2 separate regions of the Homo sapiens genome follow, and region 1 is linked to region 2. Evidence: promoter capture Hi-C in 16 types of primary human blood cells and fetal thymus (Javierre and others, 2016). All regions are on one chromosome and are shown on one strand. The core of a region is centred on a gene start or on the middle of the fragment in contact, and the rest is flanking DNA. Distances in the headings are between cores, read along the strand shown. Region 1 overlaps NDUFS6 (NADH:ubiquinone oxidoreductase subunit S6). Region 2 holds the start of FASTKD3 (FAST kinase domains 3).

What was found. The method cuts DNA at HindIII sites, captures the fragments that hold promoters and counts their contacts. A CHiCAGO score of 5 or more calls a contact.
Region 1: a fragment that was not itself captured here is called in contact with the fragment with the promoter of FASTKD3 in region 2 in 1 of 17 cell types (fetal thymus); the score reaches 6.1 in fetal thymus.

What each region holds. Positions count from the first base shown.
Region 1 is chr5:1,802,256-1,808,680 of GRCh38, reverse strand. NDUFS6 (NADH:ubiquinone oxidoreductase subunit S6) reads right to left here. Exons shown (of 4, transcript NM_004553.6): 2 at 6,307-6,360. Among named protein-coding and RNA genes, the nearest start is that of NDUFS6, 4.1 kb to the right of the region's middle. The HindIII fragment of the contact is 2,204 bases long and covers 4,074-6,277 here.
Region 2 is chr5:7,863,846-7,870,280 of GRCh38, reverse strand. It overlaps FASTKD3 (FAST kinase domains 3), which reads left to right and starts at 1,250. Exons shown (of 7, transcript NM_024091.4): 1 at 1,250-1,302; 2 at 2,085-3,635; 3 at 4,298-4,383. The coding sequence starts at 2,198. It overlaps MTRR (5-methyltetrahydrofolate-homocysteine methyltransferase reductase), which reads right to left and starts at 1,133. Exons shown (of 15, transcript NM_002454.3): 1 at 1,066-1,133. RefSeq lists silencers at 631-680, 741-790, 801-1,240. The HindIII fragment of the contact is 2,367 bases long and covers 314-2,680 here.

The DNA.
Region 1 (6,425 bases), core at 3,926-6,425, 6.1 Mb after region 2:
GTTGGAATCCAGTGACTAATTTTGCCAGTGCCTTGGAAGAGAAAGAACCACAAGACACAAAGACACAATAGAGAAGCAAAGACGAAGCTGGGGAGCTGCATGAGGGAGGAAATAAAGCCCATCTCGCCAGCTCACAAACAAAGCCACCAGCATGTGAACCTGGGGCTCGTGAATTCACAGTTCCAACTATTTTCCTCTGGGTCCTGGGATAAATAAACCTCACTTTATAACCATTATTTCTGACAGTCCAAGCCTTTCTAAAGGAAGCAAAGACCCACGGTTCTTATCCATCCAGAAGATTTCTTTTAAAATCCGATTGCCTTCACTCCACTATAAAGATGGCGTATTTGGGAGGGAAGCTCAGGAGGAGGAGCATGCAGAAGCGGGAAGCCACACAAAAGCTCTGGAGAGCAGCCATGGCGCACATCGCACCGCCCGCGTCTCAAACACCCCCTAAAGGACGCCCAGGTTGCTTCAAGACAAGAGAGACTCAGGCAAACCTCCCCTCTTAAACCCTCTAAGGATGAACCTGGAAGCAAGCACAGAGCTCCACCTCTGCCACCAACCAGATGACCTGCAAAGGCGGAGGGTGGAATTCCGAGGCCCCTCAATTCAATCTTCCTCTCACGGAGGACCTTCTCAGCCACCACTGTCTGGCTGGGGGCCTCACCCTAGCACCCATCCCCGACTCCCAGTCCTGTCTCCCACCTGGAGCTCCAGCGGCACCACAAGGGCACTTTCACAGCTCCCTCCTGGTGACGCCACCTCTTCCTCCTGCCCCCCAAGTCCTAGGAATAGTGGCTGCTTCCTGCAGCTACTGACCCCTGGGTACCTCAGCACTCCCTCTCAGCTCTCTGGTGGCATCCCTCCTGTGACCAACAGTGTGTGTGTGCACGCACGAGAGCCAACATGGTTCGGGTGGTGCTGCGCTGGCCTCAAGAGATGGCTCAATGTAGACGAAAGATGTCACAAGTTTCTTCCACTGCTGATCCGAGGAGTGCGCTTGTCCTGGGTGATAACACAAGTTACCACCACGGGTGTGCAGAGCCTCTGGAGGTGCCGCGTGGGCCCAGCCTCAGCCTCACTTGCTTCCCCACCCGAGTGTGCCCTGCCCTGCCGGCCTCTTGGGAGAAATAAGAATGAGCGACACCAGCCACAGAAGCCTCAGGGAGGAACCTCTGGTCAATTCCTGCGTGGGCCTGAAGCCACTTCCCTCTTAATTTTTTTTTAATTGTGGTAAAATACACATAACATAAAACTTGCCATCTTTACCATTTCTAAGGACACCACGTATATTCACATTATTGTGCAACCATCACCACCACCCATCTCCAGAACCTTCCACCTTCGTAAACTGAAACTCCATTTCCATTCAACACTAACTCCAAATTCACCCCCCGCCCCCGGCAACCACCAACTACTTGCTACCTCTAAGAAGCGACTGTTCTGGTCCCCCGTATCAGAGGAATCACACAGTGTTCACACAGTACCTCTGAGTACCTCACGCAGTACCTCTGAGTACCTCACGCAGTACCTCTGAGTACCTCACGCAGTACCTCTGAGTACCTCATACAGTACTTCTAAGAAGCGACTGTTCTGGTCCCTCGTGTTAGAGGAATCACGCAGTCTGCTTCTGTGACTGGCTCACTTCACTGAGCGCAACGTCCTCCAGGCTTATCCGTGTTGTGGGGCGTGTCAAGCGTTCTTCCTTAAGGCTGAATAATATTCCACTGTCCATGGACAGATCACATTTTGCTTATCCGTTCAGCTGACAATGGACCCCCAAACTGCTTCCAGATTTGAGTTATAATGAATAATGCTGCTATGACACGAGTGTACCCCGGACCCCGCTTTCAGTTCTTTTGGGCACACGCTCAGAAGTGGAACCGCTGGATTGGATGGAAGTCCTAGTTTCAACTTTTTGAGGAACCCACACGCTGTTTTCCTTCACGGCTGTGCCATTTTACATTCCCAGCAGCAAGGCACAAAGTTTCAGTTGCTCCACGCCGTCACCCACGCTTGTTTTCTGTTTGGAGGGTCTTGGTAGTTTTCCTCTCTCGTGAGCACTACTCAATTATTTCCATTAACGAAATCTACACACTCTTCTCAGAAGGATAAAACTTCACATTATCGCAACAAAACAGCACGCCAGGTAGACATTTGCACCGCGTGCAACTGCTCCTAATCCTGGTGGCACCACGCACCTTGAAGTCTGCTACTGAAGAACTGAGGGCCAGGCAGGTGAGGCCACAGGGTCACAACTGGACTCAACCCTGCCAGCCTAGGTGTCTCAGAAAACGTGCAGAATCTCGCTGACCCAAACGCCCAGCTGTGGGCTGTGCGGGTCAGGGAGTGACTCCGCCCTGCCGAGCATCTGAGGAGAGAATCCATCCCACTGGCGGGCAGATGAAGGCACAAGCTGAAGCCCCCAGCTGTTCCGTGATCCTGACACACACAGGTGGAGAGGGGTGGCACAGAGTCGCACTCAAGGGATCCCAGCCTCCTGATGTTCCGGGTTTGCTGCCTAATTCCTTCTTTTCAAAAACTAAAAGTAAAGACCTTGTGTATAGACACTAACGTTTAACTTCAGTATTTTAAAAAAATCTAAAAGTGAAGCCTGCCCTCATGGTGGTGGCGAAGGCAGCAGCAGAGTAAGGCGAACACACACTAGAGGCTTCCCTGGGACAGGCGCTGCTCCAAGCCTTTCCTCATCTACACGGACTCAGTGCCCACGAGCCTACAAGCTAAGTCACTGAAGCACACAGCCCTCATAAGCCCATCAGCGCAGGAGCCTGAATCCGGATGCGGCCAGGCAGGGCAGCCCCAGCTACTAACCAAAAAAGCAAATGATGTCGCCAAGTACCTGGCTACCAGGCTGTTGTTATTGCTGTTATTATTACCACACCTCACTGCAGACCTCCCCCAGTCATCCCTTCTATTAGGGGACAAGTCATATCTGCTTTTAATTTTACTTGTACGACTATAAAGCAATGAAAATATTTCCATCAACAGCAGAGAAATACCTGGTCACTTCCAAGTTTGTTCCAGTCCCCCATCTGACTTATGTGGCCCCAGAGTGCCACCTGCTCCAGGACCATGTGAGGCCTGACTTCTGGCTGGGGGTGGCTGGCACATTCTTTAGCACGTGAGGAGTCTCCTCACAGGCAGGCCCGTCACAGGCCCAGGGGCCATGGATTCCTTTGAAGGTACCCCCGGTCAAAGCTGGGCAGGAGCCACACAAAGATACTTTCCACTGTTTTTCTGCAAAGACCAGCTCAATTATCTAGCTTCCTGCTATGCTTGTTCTACAGGTGAAGTTCAGATTCAGTTTATTTTTTTCTTTTTTTTCTGGAGATAGAGTCTTGCTCTGTTGCCCAGGCTGGAGTACAATGGCATGATCTCAGCTCCCTGCAGCCTCAACCTCCCAGACTCAATGACCCTCCCACCTCAGCCTCCCACGTTGCTTGAGCTACAGGCATGTGCCACCATGCTAGGCTAATTTTTATATTTTTTGTAGACACAGGGTTTCACCATATTGCCCAGGCTGGTCTTGAACGCCTGGGCTCAAGTGATCAGCCCACCTTGGCCTCCCGAAGTGTTGGGATGACAGGCATAAGCCTACTGTGCCTGGCCCAGTTTACTTCTTAAAGTATTACTTGACAAAACTAGAGGACAGTACGATCAGGGGCTGCCAGGGGTTGGGCAGAGGGAGGGATGAACAGGCAGAGCACAGAGGATTTTTAGGGCAGTGAACTCGGTACAACACTGTCACAGTGAATACATGTCATTACACATCTATCCAAACCCTAGAACATACAACATTAAGAGTGAACCTGTGGACTTGAGTTAGTAATAATGTATGAGTATCAGCTCATCAACTGTGACACAGGCAGCACACTAATGAGAGATGGCAGTAAACAGCAGAAACTGAGCTGGGGGGCTGTGAAAACCCTACTTTCTTCAGTTTTTCTGTAAATCTAAAAGTGTTCCAAAAAATTAAGTCTCTCAGAAGCCAAACAACTACTACTAAAAATAGTACTAAACACCAAATTTGTGTTGAAAGAAGGAAAGCTTGGGCAGGATGCCCACTCATCATGTTATCAACATGCCTTGAACCTCCAAGGTGTGAGGCCAAGACGTGCCCTGGACACTCAGGATGCTGAATGGGGGAAGGCACTGGAGGCTAGGCCGGCTGGAGCGTTGAGGTCACAACCAGGACGCCCTGGGTGAGCTGCCGGTCACAGACACTACTATCACACTATCCCGTACCCACCCCTCACTGGCTTCGCCAATCCTGATTCTGTTTGGTTTAAGTTGTTTCCCACTACCCTATGCTACACCAACCAGAAACCAGAAGCTACACAAAGAATGTTCAGCAGAGAGGCGTTTGTGACAGGGACCCACATACTTGCTTCGTCACTACAAGAGCTGAGATAGGGAGCTGGGCTGGAAGCCAGATTGCATGAATGAGCCCAAGGGCTTCAGGACCAATCTGCTCCAGAACTGCTCAATCTGGGGCTCCTACCTTGCCCCCACGACCGTGCCATAACACCCACAAAGCAAGGATGTAGAGTCCAGCCACTACCTCAGTAACAACCACCCATCGATGCCCAGGAAACCTCCGTCACCACGGTCACTGCCAAAAGAAACCAAAGGGCCTGCGAACCCTCCCCACATCCATCGGTTTCTCCCCTTCTCCACGGTCACCACTAAAAGAAACCATACCGCATCCACACTAAGAGAAACCTCCCCTTCTCCACGATCACTGCCAAAAGAAACCAAAGGGCCTGCAAATCCTTTCAACATCCATCGGTTTCCACCTTCCAAATGTCAAGTTCATATACCTAACAAGAATGCCCAGGACAGCCTGCACACGGAAGAAATGTCCCATTCGCAATGCCATGAGCTCCTTTGTGTGAATCACTGGGATACAGCATTGGAGAATGTGGCACATGGAACAGATGCTTCTACTGGGAATACACTAACAATTCAAACAACAAACAGAAAAGGGTTTCTGAGGATGGAGAGAAAGAGCACTTACCCTATACACCACTTACTCGACAACTGACAGTGTGATATCACTGGAGACTTATGATTCAATTAAAAATATTCACATGGTTCCATTTCACAAATGAGAAAACTGAACCCATGCTGTGATTCAACCTCACAATTTTTAGACTGCAAGTCCACACAGCTTCTACTCCGAGAGGCAAACCCACCAGACACAAGCCCCTCTCCACCACCATGATCCTGGTAGACATCACTAATCAATCATGGCACACTCTTCCACTGAATGTGCATCAGGCCTCAGGATCTTTCTCAACCCAACACTCAAGTGGCATTGCCAAATAATCAACCACTATAAAACAAACTTTTCTGACACCCACCCATCAAACCACACAACAGTGAACCAGCTGAATTTTGAGAATGTGAATTTATAGTCAATTCATGATCATGTGAGCTTTTCTGGAATGCCCTGTAGCTCTGGAATAGACGTACAAAAACTACACACTGGGAATGGATAACGTAACCAAGATTGAAGGAGAAGGGAAAATACATGATTTAGGGATAGCTACGGTGTTAACAAGAAGAACACCAGGCTAACCAAAGTGGGAAAAAGAATGAATAAGGTGGCTGTGAAGGACACTTCACAGCATCCTTCAGGAAGCAAATTCAGGAATCATGGAGGCATGCCTGATCTAATTACGAATTCAGGAGCTCATTGACATGAGTGATAGAGAAGGAGTCAGGTAAAAAAAAAAAATAGGCTGATTTAGGCAGAAGGATTCTAATTTCAACATTCTTTCTCCAGTGGTCACTCACAGGCACCTGAACTGATCTTCCCTTACAATGCATAGAGCTAACAGACCCACTAAGGGAAGAAAAACTCATGTGCCATTTTCAGCTTGTCAGTGTAAGTCCCTGTAAAAAACACACACTAATTTATTTGGTGAAAACTATAAAAAACACACCTCCAGGTGGTTAAAAGAATAATTTTTTTAAAGTTGATATGATTTACTTAAATCTGAGAGTCTCAGGAGAATAAGGGACAAGAATTTTAAAAAAGATCACTTCCATTTATATGCAAACCAGAACTACGGCTACAATGTTATGTATTTCAGGGGGAAACAAGTCAGAAATAGACACAATTAAGATTTTAAGAAAGGAAGAACCCCATCCAGAACTGTTAGGGTGCTTGCAATATGGGGAAAATTTATTTAAATCTTATATATTAATTTTTATTTCTTGTTGGTTACATAAAAGTTTTAGGAAAGCTTACCTCTCTTCACTAGATTTTTTACTCACCTCTTTCTGACGACCTACAAACCGAATTCTCCTGTAGTCTTTATCATCATAAACCTGGAAAAAAACAAAAAGACCATGTGTGACTTTTACGGCCTAATTCTGAAAGTCACTTCATATCA
Region 2 (6,435 bases), core at 1-2,500:
TTGGTTCTTATTTGATCCTAACGCTAAACAAACTAATCATAGTACTAAAGGTAACTGAAGCACATACTCTCCTTCATTATTTAATGCAAATCAAAAATATGTGAGTGTATGGGCATATATACAAACGGGTGCATATAACGAAAAAATATTTCCAATCCACTTAAACATTTTACTAACACGTTTTTCCGCAAGAGATAAGCAGTAGTAAAACAAACGACACTCACAGATTTTTTTCCATACTCATCTAACGGCTAAAATTGGTGGGCTGTCAATTTGCAGAGACAGATTTAAACTGAAACCCAAACCAAAAGCTTGGCTTTCGGTGAATGAACCGCCCAGAACGGCACCTGGCATGAAACTGGTACTCGATAAGTTATCTGAATGAGTGAATAAACAATATGAAAACACTACACATTGACAGCTCACAGAAAACGGTGGAAACGATAATGAAAACCTTACTACAGCTAAAATTTCTATCACTTCCCATGAAACACACATCCTGAGGGCTTCCCAGGATCAATCAACCCCTCATCCCTGCTACTGCCCCACAATCCGGCACCACCTTCCCACGACTCTCAGCGGAGGCCCGGGCCCCAGCAGCCCCGGAAGCGGCGCGGAGGCGGTGGGCAGAGCTCACGGCCGCGGGCAGAACTCACGGCCGCGTCCCGCCGGGTGGGCGCTCGGAACGTCCCGGGTTCCCCGGAGCGCGCCGCCCCAACCCGGCATGTTCCCCAGTTCCCCGCGTCCCCGAGTGCGGTTTCCCTAGGCCTGGAAAGCGCCTAGAACCAAAGGCAGAACATGAGGAGAGACCCCACGCCGCCCAGGGGCCTCCCGCGGCAGAGGCCGACGCCGAGCCCAAGGACACGCTCCCGGGGACACCAAAGCCAAAGGCCAAAGGCCAAGTCCGAGCCCCAGCCCGCGCCCGCGGCGACCCCCGGAGGCCGAAGGGCGTGGGAACCACGGGCGCAAGCCGGCTGCCCACCCCCGCCCCGGGCCGCCTCTCCCAGGAGATTAGTGCAGGGCGAGCGGCCGGAATCCGGGAACCGTAGCCGACAGGCAGCTTACCCACGCCGCGCCAGCCGGGCACGAACCTGCACAACGCGACTTCCACCAACCTTGCGCCAGCGCGCACTGACGCAGCGCCCATGCTCGGTACCCAGGACCAATAGAAAGCTCCGAAGGGGACCTGGGCCAATCACATTGCGCCGCCCTGAGTCGTGCTCCCGCCCCGCGTTTGCTACGGAGGCCCACGACGCCCAGGCGCTTCCGCGACCACCCGGAGTGATTGCCCGGCAGAGCGCGGTAGGTGTCAACGCGGGGTCTCCGCGCAGTTGGTCCGGCTGGGTGTCAAAGACCTGGCCGGCTTTCTCCTCAGGCTGCGCCGCCCGGCCCGTGTCTCAGCGCAGGTCCCCGGGGCGCCGAGTTTGGGGGTGCTCGCCCCGCGGGTCCCTTTCATTCCTAGGAAAACGCGCCGCGGGGCCTCCCGTCTGTCTGTCTTGCACACACGTGTTGCCAAATCCCCCCGCACCGTCTTTAGATCTGGACTGGCCGCCCCACCTTCTCCCTTCATTGATCTATGTTTTGCTTTTTCTTTTCCTACCTTGTTTCCATTGACAAAGTAGACCCTTTCCTTCAACACTAACCTTCTCCCGACACCGAGGGGAAACCAACAGCTTAGGGCCTTTCCAGCGCGTTTTTACCCTTGCCTTGCTCTAACCTCGCCTAATTTTGCCCACTTTACCTGTTCTTTGATTTCTATCCAAATGCAATTTCTTCCTTCAACCAACATTTAAGGGCCACCCTTAAGAGCTACATTGCCTGAGTTTGAACCCTAGCTCTGCCACTTAACCACCTGCATAAACTGGGCAAAGTAACTTTGTGCTTCAACTTCTTCCTCGTGTAAAATGATAGTAAAAGTACTGAATCTGTGTAAGTTAATAGAATACCTACAACAGTGTTTAGCAAGTAATAGCGATTGTTATTGTTCAATGTCAGCCACTCTTCTAACTCTAGGATGCAGAGACTTTGCCCCTCTGGTGTTTATATGTTAACCATCCTTTTTTTTTTTTTTTTTTTTTTTCCAGATACTCGTTTGTAGTTTCATAAACATTGATGTTGGGTCAATCATGTTCTCAATGTATTTAACCATGTGTTTTTAAATTTTTTAATTTAGTTATCAAATTGAGAATCTGATGGTATGGCATTAATCACCTTGAGGAAGAACCTTTATCGTTTATCTGATTTTCAGATGCATAGAGCTCTGGCTGCTTTAAAAAATAAACCTCTAAATCATGTTCACAAGGTAGTCAAGGAGCGTCTGTGCCCTTGGTTGTGTTCACGACAACCTGAGCCTTTCGGGGTCAAATTCCATCATGCCCATTGTAAAAAGTTTCATTCGAAAAATGGAAATGACCTTCATCCACTCGGTGGACCAGTGTTCTCTCAAGTATCTGACTGCGACAGGCTTGAACAAAATGTTAAAAATGAGGAGAGTCAGATGTTTTACAGGAGACTGAGCAACTTGACTTCATCAGAAGAAGTGCTAAGTTTTATAAGCACGATGGAAACCCTGCCTGACACTATGGCAGCAGGAGCTTTACAACGAATTTGTGAAGTGGAAAAAAAGGATGGTGATCAAGGGCTGCCAAAAGAAATACTGGAGAATAGCATCTTTCAAGCTTTATGCTTTCAGTTTGAAAAGGAGCCCTCACAGCTGTCAAACACTAGTTTAGTGACTGCTTTGCAAGCTCTGATTCTGTTGCATGTGGATCCTCAAAGTAGCCTGTTGCTGAACCTGGTGGCAGAATGCCAAAATCGTCTCAGAAAAGGTGGCATGGAAGTTCGCAATCTTTGTATTCTTGGGGAAAGTCTGATTACACTGCACAGTTCAGGTTGTGTGACACTAGAACTCATTATAAATCAACTTCAAGGTGAAAAATTGGAAACATTTACCCCGGAGGATATTGTGGCCCTTTATAGAATCTTGCAGGCATGTACTGAAAAAGTGGATGAACACCAAACATTTTTAAATAAGATAAACAACTTTTCCCTATCAATAGTTTCCAACCTGAGTCCTAAATTGATTAGCCAAATGCTCACTGCCCTGGTGGTTCTTGATCAAAGTCAAGCATTTCCTCTGATTATAAAATTGGGCAAATATGTCGTGAGGCATGTCCCACATTTCACTAACGAGGAGCTTAGGAGAGTCTTGGAGGCGTTCATATATTTTGGGCACCATGACACATTTTTTACAAAAGCCCTAGAGCATCGTGTAGCTGCGGTGTGCCTCACGTTGGATCCTGAAGTTGTCTGCAGGGTCATGGAGTACTGCAGTAGAGAACTGATTCTTTCAAAACCCATCCTCAATGCAGTGGCAGAAACTTTTGTTTGCCAAACAGAAAAATTTTCACCTCGTCAGATTTCTGCCTTAATGGAACCATTTGGGAAACTCAATTATTTGCCACCAAATGCCTCTGCTTTATTTAGAAAGCTGGAAAACGTGCTATTCACTCATTTCAATTATTTTCCACCCAAATCATTATTGAAACTTCTTCATTCATGTTCACTTAATGAATGCCATCCAGTCAACTTTCTGGCAAAAATATTCAAGCCTCTTTTCCTTCAACGGCTGCAAGGTGAGTTGGTTATAAATTCTGACAGTTGGAAAAAAGTAACCTTTGAACTGGCAGTGGTTTCAAGTCACATATAAAGGCAATATGTTGCCTTTAGTTTTTCTTCCATAGTGATCCGAAGATGAGACCTGAAGTTAACAGATGCTGGCATAAACACAGTTAAAGCATGCTAGGAAATCATGTAGAGGGAAGAAAGCTGTCTCAGATAAACTGACTTTTGCCTTATCTGAGAAATTGCAGCATTCTTAGGAGATATGGTAATGGCAGTGGAAATAGCCACATTAACATGTTAGAACTTTTGATGAGTGAGCAACTGTATCTTTTTTTTTTTTTTTGAGAGGATGGTATTATTCATCTTAATTCAAGGCCACCCAAATATGTCAAATTTCCGGAACTCCATAGTTAAAGGAAATTTCCACTAATTCTGTGAACATATTTTATCTCTTTTAATTGTATTCTGTAGCTAGGAGCTTGGGTTCTTGGAAGTCAATTTCATTGGTGGCAAGAGGAGGGCATAATTAATTCTAACAAGTTCATTTCATAGTGTCATTTAAAAATAGAATACTTCTGTCTGGAGTGTGTAAATTGATGTTGAATGTTCATGATGTTCTCTCATACATACCTCAATTCAGACGTAACTATGACTGGGATGCTTTCTGTTTCAGGTAAAGAATCTCATTTGGACACATTGAGTCGGGCACAACTGACCCAACTTTTCTTAGCCTCAGTCCTGGAATGCCCTTTCTATAAGGTAAAAGCATGAACTATATGTGGCTTTATTTCCCCATGGGTGCAGTTTCCTTTTAAGTTCCTTTACTTCTGATCTGTCTCAATAACCTGAAAAAGCAGAATTTCATTTACTTGGAGTCAGTTGCCACCAGATAGGCTTTTCTTTGATAAATGGACCCCATTTTTGTGTTCTTGTTCTTGAAGGAACAATTTCCTGCTGTTTAAGATTTCTTAGGAGGTTTTATCAAGTGCTGCAGGCATGTGAGTTACAGTATTTCTCCATTCTCTCTGAAGGTTTTACAGGGTTTTAGTACTAGGTTTACTACTAGGTTTCCCATAGCTGTTTGTTATCAAAGTGTGAATGTCTGGACTGAACAAATACCTAAATTATTTGCAAGTACAGTATATTTTTAAGCCAAGCCAGAAATTTCACTTTTATCTAATAGAGTTTAGTTTATCTAGAGTTCGCTCTTCCCATAAAGACCTATAAAGATTTATCCTATTACCTATCACATTCCTTATGTAGAATCAGAAATAGCACACCAGACTATGACATTCTCTCTCTGCTTCTCTCTACTTGACTCTGAATCATAGTTTAGAGTATCTGATTTTTGAAATAAGGTAATAAGAATGGAAAAATACCCCTTTTTTAAAACAGCTTAGACAGTACTAAGTTATATAAAGATAAATAATAGTTAACCCCGATCTCTTACCATTTCTAAAGGAACAGTATTAAAAGCAGTTTCTACGCCCAAATGTATACAGATACATAAACACTGTCTATTTTTTTTCTCTTTTCAAGGAATGAGACTCACTAATCAAAGTACAATTTGCTTTTATGCGCAGTATATCATGGCCATCCCTCGAGGCCAGTGCATACAGATCACATGCATTCTTTTTAGAAAGGCATGATATTTCATGGTGTTTATTCTACTATTGATGCACTTGGAGGTTTTTGCAACTTTTGTCTCTATCGGGAATGCTATAATAAACATTCTTGCAAATCCTGTCATACTAGAGCCTTTTTGGTTTTTTTCATATATAAACTAGATTCCCAAAAATGTGATTAGTGGATTAATTTTTGATGGATACTGGCAGATTTTTTTTCCCTAATAGTTACAGATGTCACATTTCCCCAGCAATGAATGAAGGTGGCCATGTCTCCTCCACTTCTATTGCAGTGTGTTAGTAGTCTCTTTAATTTGTGTTACTCAACTACATGAAAGAGGATATCATATCATATATTTAAGTTGCATTTTAATGAGCATTAATGAAGTTTAGCATATTTTCAAATATGTGTTGGCCATTTACATTTCTTTTGAATTGCCTTTCTACACCTTAATTTATTTCTGTTGGATGGTTTGTCTTTAAGGACTCATTGTAAAACAGATATTAACTATTATGAATGTTGTACATATTTTCCCGATTTGTACTCTTTTATTACTTTTTAATATTACTTATGATGTATTTTTAAATGTTCTGTAGTCGAATCTGTCTTTTATGACTTCCGAGGTTCCTATCTCAAGAGCATGAATATTTTACATTTTTAAAAATAATATCTTTTAAATTTTATTTAGATCTTTGATCTAAAAGTAAAATTGAATTTTTATTTATGTATTCTAATTAACAAAAATTGTATATACTTATTATGTTCATGTTGTTTTGAAATATGTATACATTGTAGAATGGCTAAATCAAACCAATTAACATGTGTATTACCTCCATATCTATCATTTTATTTTGTGGTAAGAATATTTAAAATGTACTCTTGCCGTGCGCAGTGGCTCATGCCTGTAATCGCAGCACTTTTGGAGGCCAAGGCGGGTGGATCACCTGAGGTCAGGAGTTCGAGACCAGCCTTGCTAACATGGTGAAACCCTGTCTCTACTAAAAATACAAAAAATTAGCCGGGCATGATGGCACACGCCTGTAGTCCCAGCTACTCTGGACTCTGAGTTAGGAGAATCGCTCAACCCAGGAGGCGGAGGTTGCAGTGAGCCGAGGTCGCGTCATTGTACTCCAGCCTGGGCAACAAGAGTGAAACTCTGTCTCAGAAACAAAAACAAAAACAAAC